Linked DNA regions of Homo sapiens: region 2 is linked to region 1. Evidence: promoter capture Hi-C in 16 types of primary human blood cells and fetal thymus (Javierre and others, 2016). All regions are on one chromosome and are shown on one strand. The core of a region is centred on a gene start or on the middle of the fragment in contact, and the rest is flanking DNA. Distances in the headings are between cores, read along the strand shown.

What was found. The method cuts DNA at HindIII sites, captures the fragments that hold promoters and counts their contacts. A CHiCAGO score of 5 or more calls a contact.
Region 2: a fragment that was not itself captured here is called in contact with the fragment with the promoter of CD3D in region 1 in 1 of 17 cell types (neutrophils); the score reaches 5.1 in neutrophils.

What each region holds. Positions count from the first base shown.
Region 1 is chr11:118,340,573-118,343,954 of GRCh38, forward strand. It overlaps CD3D (CD3 delta subunit of T-cell receptor complex), which reads right to left and starts at 2,133. Exons shown (of 5, transcript NM_000732.6): 1 at 1,981-2,133; 2 at 1-21. The coding sequence starts at 2,035. The HindIII fragment of the contact is 13,588 bases long and covers 1-3,382 here.
Region 2 is chr11:118,127,246-118,131,006 of GRCh38, forward strand. No RefSeq gene overlaps it. Among named protein-coding and RNA genes, the nearest start is that of SCN4B, 24 kb to the right of the region's middle. RefSeq lists enhancers at 2,637-3,138, 3,139-3,638. The HindIII fragment of the contact is 4,106 bases long and covers 1-3,761 here.

The DNA of each region.
Region 1 (3,382 bases), core at 883-3,382:
TAGGTATCTTGAAGGGGCTCACTAAAGGGGAAAAAATATCACAGTTGGAGACAGCTCTTTGATCTGCACCAAGCCCTTTGTTCTGCGGAAGCTCATACTTAACAGAGACCATTTTCCTGGTCCAGGACAGTTTATGGCTTCCATCAAGAGAGACAGAAGTCACAAGAAAAAGCCTTCAGAAAGTTCCCCACCAACTGCAGGGGTCAAGGGGGACATGAGGATGCCATTCAAGCAGAGGACAGGTCTTGGGGCCTTGGTGCAAAAGAGGACCCCTCAGAGCAGGATTGACCCAAGCACCTTCCTGGAAATGAATCCAGACCACTGATGAGGAGTAGGGGGAGCACGGACCACTGAAGCACCTGGAAGATGTGGAAAGACAGAAGAACATTCCTCGATTGGAAATGTCTGCATTTTTTCTTCAAGGAAACATCTAATTCCACTTCCCAGCCATCTACAACACTCCCACTTCAGCTTCTTATCCTCATCCTTCCTCATTGCCCCTGCTCCATTGACAACCAAGAAAGCGGGGCTCTCAACACTGAAGCCTTTCCCAGGGCCAGGGATGGCTGTGGGTGGAGACCAGCTGGTTTACCAGCCCCTGAATTATCAGCCAAGTGGTCCAGAACGGGACCAGGGCAAATCCCATGTACAGTTTTCCACCCTTGGTTAGAAGGAGGAGAACAGGAAAAAAATTTTATTGAATCCATCCCTAGAGCTCCTCACAAGTCAAGTCTTGTGGGAGACTTTTAGGGCTGGAGGTGAGTGCAGCAACATTCCAGATGCAGTGAGTTCCTCTGACAGCCTGAGCACATCTCCACAGGCCACAGAGGCACTACAGTCTATGCCTCCAAACACAGGGAAAAGTGGAGGCTACATTCATTCATCCTGGGCTTCACACTAAGTCCCAAATTTGGATACAAGAGCATCTTCTAGAAAACCCTGAAACAGCTGTTGCTCACACTTCTGAAGCAGGTTGGAAGTATATGCATGTATCCTCAGGGAGACACATGCACATCAAATGCTTCACGTCCTACAGTCGCGTCCTCTTCAGGGATCTGTCTCCAGTGGAAATCCTGAGTGCCCTAGTGCAGCCAACTATTAGGTGACCATTGGACCCAGTTTGCTTAGTGTTGAAGGGGTTCCTCGGACATGGGACTTTCCATTTTAAAACTGAAATTGGCAAACTGAGATGAGTTAAAATCCTACCATGTAACAACCCCTCAAATCTTCCCTCCGTCCTGCTCAACCTAAAGTTAACTTCTCTTAAAGCATTCACATAAGTGCTAGGACATGCCTCCAGGGATGACATAATCATGGCCAAACAAACAAGAGTCCTGATTCCAGAGGCCATCAGGCCTAAAAGGAGTAGTGCAGGAAGCTGTGCTCCCATGGCCAGTCCCAGATTCAGGTACATACGTACTGAGCTATTTTCTGCAGATCTCTGGCCTAAGGCCTTCTGAGAGACATTCTAGGCCCACATGCACCCATGGCTGGAGTCAGTCAAAGCCAAGAGCCTGTTTCCCAGACTCTATGCTACATCCTGCCCCTGCCCTCCTGACACCCCTGGGGTGCCTGGTGAACTGAAGCTAGCACCGAGAAGCACTTTTTTTTTTTTTTGAGATAAGGTCTCACAGGTTGCCTAGGTTGGAGGGCAGTGGCATGATCACAGCTCACTGAAGCCTTGAAATCCCGGGCTCAAGTGACCCTCCTGCCTCAGCCTCTCAAATAGCTGGGACTACAGTTGTGCACCACCATGCCTGGCTAATTCTTTTGTTTTTTGTAAAGATAGAGTCTCATCATGTTGCTCAGACTGGTCTCAAACTCCTGGCCTCAAAGGATCCTCCCACTTCGGCCTCCCAAAGCTCTGGGATTACTGGTGTGAGCCACCGTGCCTGGCAAGAAACACTTTCAAGTGGGCCTCACTCCCATCAGTAATGTCCCTCTCAGGTCCCTTCCCCCACCCACCTGGAGTAGCCTTACCTTGCGAGAGAAGGGTAGCCAGTACCAGGCCAGAGAGAAACGTGCTATGTTCCATCTCCCAGCGGAACTCATCCAGTAGATAAAGCCAGGTCACCGAACTATCAGCCTGGGTGAGAGCTGCCCTCCCCTAGCTGACTCACAGGTACCGGAAAGAGGAGAGTGGGGGAGGAACTAGAAGATGTCTGCTTCTCTGCTTTCTGCCGTTGATGGTGGGAAATTTTCAGAGTGGGGGTGGGCTAGGGGTAGGGTAGGAAGGAAGCGGTGTAAATTGCTCTATCTCTGAGCAGGGAGCTGGCAGAGAATATGGAAAAGGTGGCCTGAACTTTAGCGTCCCTATTGACAATGCAACCACATTTACACACAACCTAAACACTGCCACATCTCGAAGCCCCTTGAGAGAAGCCGTCGGCCCCATAGCGCAAGCCGTAGCAGCTAGATTTCTCATGGAGGCTGATCTTTCTCAGGACCCTTCACTAGGCAGCCAGGGACACCAGATCTAGCAGCTTCTTGTCAGTGGGAGGTTGGGCTTTAGAGACCCCAGCCAGAGATTTGAATCCTGGGTCCAATACTGCCTACCTGTGGGGCCTGGGCCAGCCATAAAATTTTTCAGAGTCTTATTCCATTAGTACCATTATTAGGATTCAAACAAGATATTTGCATGGTGCCTCACGCATCATATGTGCTCATTAAGGGGTAGTTATTAATAATAATATAATTGACTGACAGGCAATATTGAGCCTCCCGGTGAGACAAATGGACCTTTTTCCCCTGTGGCCTACGAGGATCTGAAACTCTTCACGCTGCTGCAGTTAGACTGTCACTTACCTGGGGACAGAGTCATGCCTGTCTTGCTCACTGCTGTATCTTGTGCCTGGCACATAACGGGAGCTCTGCACATTTTTGTTGGCTCACTGACTGACTGGCTGAGGGAGATAGGGGCCTGAGATCCTGGACATTCAGTCCGGGCTCTGGCCCCTGAAAATGTGCTGGCCTGTCCTCGGAATTGTTCCACCTATTGCCTTCCAGGCGCCTCTTTCATGATCTCAAAAGAATAGTGAAACCAGGTGCCGTGTCTCACGCCTGTAATCCCAACACTTTGGGAGGCTGAGGCAGGTGGATCACAAGGTCAGGAGTTCGAGACCAGCCTGACCAACAAGGTGAAACCCCGTCTCTACTAAAAATACAAAAATTAGCCGGGCTTGCTGGCACGCACCTGTAATCTCAGCTACTCAGGAGGCTGAGGCAGGAGAATCGCTTGAACCCCGGAGGTGGAGGTTGCAGTGAGCTGAGATAGCGCCACTGCACTCCAGCCTGGGCAACAAAGTGAGACTCTGTCTCAAAAAAGAAAAAGAAAAAAAAAGTGAAAAAAATTCCTGAATGAAGGCCTGGACTGAGGTGGCTT
Region 2 (3,761 bases), core at 775-3,274, 210 kb before region 1:
AACAGAGCAAGACCTCGTATCAAAAAAAAAAAAAAAAAGAAGATATCCAAGAGTCCATGGGGGCCGGAACAATAGGGCCTTCTGGGCTGCTATGAGGACTGAATAAGATAGACACTCGTTCTGAGCAAGAAAGAGTGACATCATCTCATTGTAATTTTTTTAAAGTGTAATTTACATACAGTAAAATTCATTTTTAGTGTAGAATTCTGCCAATTTTGACAAATGTACACAAGTAAGCAACTACCACCATAGCTCCATCACCCACAAAAAGCCTCGCTTGCCCTTTATAGCCAACCCGTCCCCAACCTATAGCGCCTTACAACCACTGTTTTGTTTGCTGTCCCTATTGTTTGCTGTCCCTATAGTTTGCTTTTTCCAGAATGTAATATAAATGGAACCATATAGTAAGTATCTTTTTGTTTGTTTTTGAGGCTTTAGGCTTTCTTTTTTTTTTTTTTTTTTGAGACTGAGTCCAGCCCAGGCTGGAGTGCAGTGGTACGATCTTGGCTTACTATACCCTCTGCTTCCTGATTTCAAGCAATTCTCGCATCTCAGCCTCCCGAGTAGCTGGGATTACAGGCACCTGCCACCATGCCCGGATAATTTTTGTATTTTTAGTAGAGACGGGGTTTCACCATGTTGGCCAGGCTGGTCTCAAACTCCTGACCTCAAGTGATCCACCATCCTCAGCCTCCCAAAATGCTGGGATTACAGGCGTAAGCCACCACGCCTGGACTTAGGCTTTCTTAATACTTCACTTTTTATTTTATTGTTAATTTTTATTTTATTTATTTATTTATGTTTTGGGAGAGACAAGGTCTCGCTATGTTGCCCAGGCTGGTCTTGAACTCCTGGCCTCAAGGGATCCTTACAACTCAGCCTCCCAAAGCTGAAATTACAGGCATGAGCCACCGCAACCAACCCAACACTTAATATTTTTTTTAGAGCAGTTTTAGTTTCACAGCAAAACTGAGCAGAAGGTAAAGAGATTTCATATATACTCCCTGCCTCCACACATGCAGGAGTGTCCCTCATTATCATCAACACCCCCACCAGAGTGGTACATGGGTCACAGATGATAACGCAGGTACCTTTCTGAGTCTGAATTATTTCACCTAGCATACTGCATTTGAGATTCATCCAGTGCTTTCACTTAGCATACTGCATTTGAGAATCCCATAGTGCATGGGATTTTGTGGAATATTCCATTGTATTGTATGGCTAGACACAGTTTGTTTTATCTACTCACCAGTCAGAGATTTAGGTTATTTATTTGTTTTGGCAATGGCAAAACCTCTAGAAGCAACTCTGTACGGGTTTTTCAGTGAACATAAATTTTCATGAATTTCTTCTGACAAGAATGCAGTAACAAAAAATGCAATTACTTTCCCATCTGAAACAACTAAAACGCTGGGGGGAAAATGCACGAAATGGCTTTCAGACACAGGGCATCAGGCAGCACAGGTCAGTGATTCCTGAGAGCGGAGAACCAAATGAGGGAGCCCTCCAATTGCTACAGCACCAGGAAAGGGGACTCGGGCAGAGTCTGGCAACCTCTCAGAATCAAGGAGATGGAGTCAGGAGTCCTGTGGATAGGGCTCACTGGGCAGTATCTCAGAGAAGAGACAGCTTCACAGAGACAGCGCTCCAGAGATCTGCAAACGGTCCCCGTGAGCCTTCAGCTGCTGATCCAGGCACACCCGAGGCTGAGAAAGAACCACCAGAAAAGATTAGAGGAAGCAATCCCCGGAGCTCATGCAGGGCGAAGAGTAGTTCACATTACAGCCAACTAAAATGGCAAAACTTCCTAATTCATGAGAGATGAGGAAGAGTATTCAAAGGGCATTGCCTCAGTAGTGGGGTGAGGTCAGCCCTGGATTAAAGGCTGCCCTATGTGAGCTCCAGGGATTTTCCTTCCTCATCCTTTCTAGAGGCTCCTTCCCTTGCCTTAGGTAGTTTCCTCACACAACTGCACTATCAGCGCTCAGCTGAAAACTTGGGAGGACCCTCCAAGGTTCTCTGGTCCTGCAAACTCTTACTATCCTAACCTCCCCCCAGATTCTTGGCACCTCTCCACAACTCAGAGAGAATGCTAGGCTTAGCCTGGGGCCCTCTCCCCAGCCTTCCAGGCACTACAGCCTACAAACGATCTCCAGGCAGTAAACTGGAGCAACAGTAAAGCTCATCTCCTGCGTTTCTCCCTCTCAGGAATGACAATTCTCTGCTGCCTATTGTCCAGGGTCTGAAAACCATTGTATCATAGGTGCTTTCCAATTTTTTTAGTTGTTTGAGGTGCAAGGGTAAATGGTCCCTATGCCTCCACCTTGGCCAGAGCTAGAGATGACATCATCTAATCCTGTTTTAAAAGAACCACCCTGGAAATTAGATTAAAGAGGACCAAGGGTAAAAGCAGGAAGACCAGTGAGAAAGCTACTGCAATAATCCAGGGGAGAGCCAGGGCGGCCTGGGCAAGGACTGTAGGGATGGTGGTAGCGAGAGGTAGTTGAGGTGATGATATATTTTGAACATAAGAGTTAATGGGATTTGCTGACAAAAAGGTTTCAGGTCGGAGACAAAATAAGGAGTCATGGTAGACTCCAAAATTTTTGGCCTGATGACTGGATGAATGAGGAAACGTGGGGAGGAGCAGATTTGGGGTCAGATTGAGGTGAAATCATGAGTTTGGTTTTGGGCAGTTGACATAACCAAGTCTGCCAGGAAGTCAGGAAGGGCTGGTCACTCGCCTCCCAGCCCTCACCCACTCAGCTGACAGCCCCTCCTGACCAGGAACAGGAGGGTGTGAGCTCAGTGCTGGCCACACCTGGGTTTTCCTCCCGTAATGCTGGCTCAGCTTACAAACTACTTAACATTTACATGGCCTGCACTTTGTAGTTTTTAAGTATTTCAGTCCAAGCATGGTGGCTCATGCCTGTAATCCCAGCAGTTTGGGAGGCCAAAGCGAGCAGATCACCTGAGGTCAGGAGTTCAAGACCAGCCTGGCCAACGTGGCAAAACCCCGTCTTACTAAAAATACAAAAAATTAGCTGGGCATGGTGGCACATGCCTGTAATCCCAGCTACTTGGGAGGCTGAGGCAGGAGAATTGCTTGAACCCAGGAGGTGGAGGTTGCAGTGAGCTGAGATCGTGCCACTGTACTCCAGCCTGGGCAACAGAGCCAGACTCTGTCTCAAAAAAAAAAAAAAAATTCACACCTGTTGATTCATTTAATCTTACAAGAGTACCATGCAGTAGATGTCATCATCCCCATTTTGCAGGTTAGGGAACTAAGGCTTGGAGAGATGAAGTGGCTTTCCCAAGGCCGTTTCACTGGTAGGTAACAGAGTGAGAACTTGAACCCAGATTCCTGGATTCTAAGTCCAGGATTGTTCTTTTCTATATCTGCTTGCAGGCCATGGAAGGGGACCCTACATCTTTCCTGTTAGCACTGCGGGTGGCTTTGTTTAAGCAATGAGCTATGAGAGAACATCTCCCCTCCTGCTGTGTGCGCTCTACTGCTACAGTGTGCACAGGTCCAATTAGAATGCCAGTGGAAGGGCTGGCCATCTGCCTGAGGGAGTGGGAGCCCTGGAGCTCCTGAATTGGGAGGGTCTTCATCTTTCTCCGGCTTCAACCTTAAGTCTGCTCTCCAAATGACTTGATAACACCATAGGAACCAAAGATTGTAAAGCAAAGTCTCTCCATGTCTTGCTCTGCCCCCTCTGCAGATTTTCCTGCATTCATTTCCCCTTGGCACCCTTTCC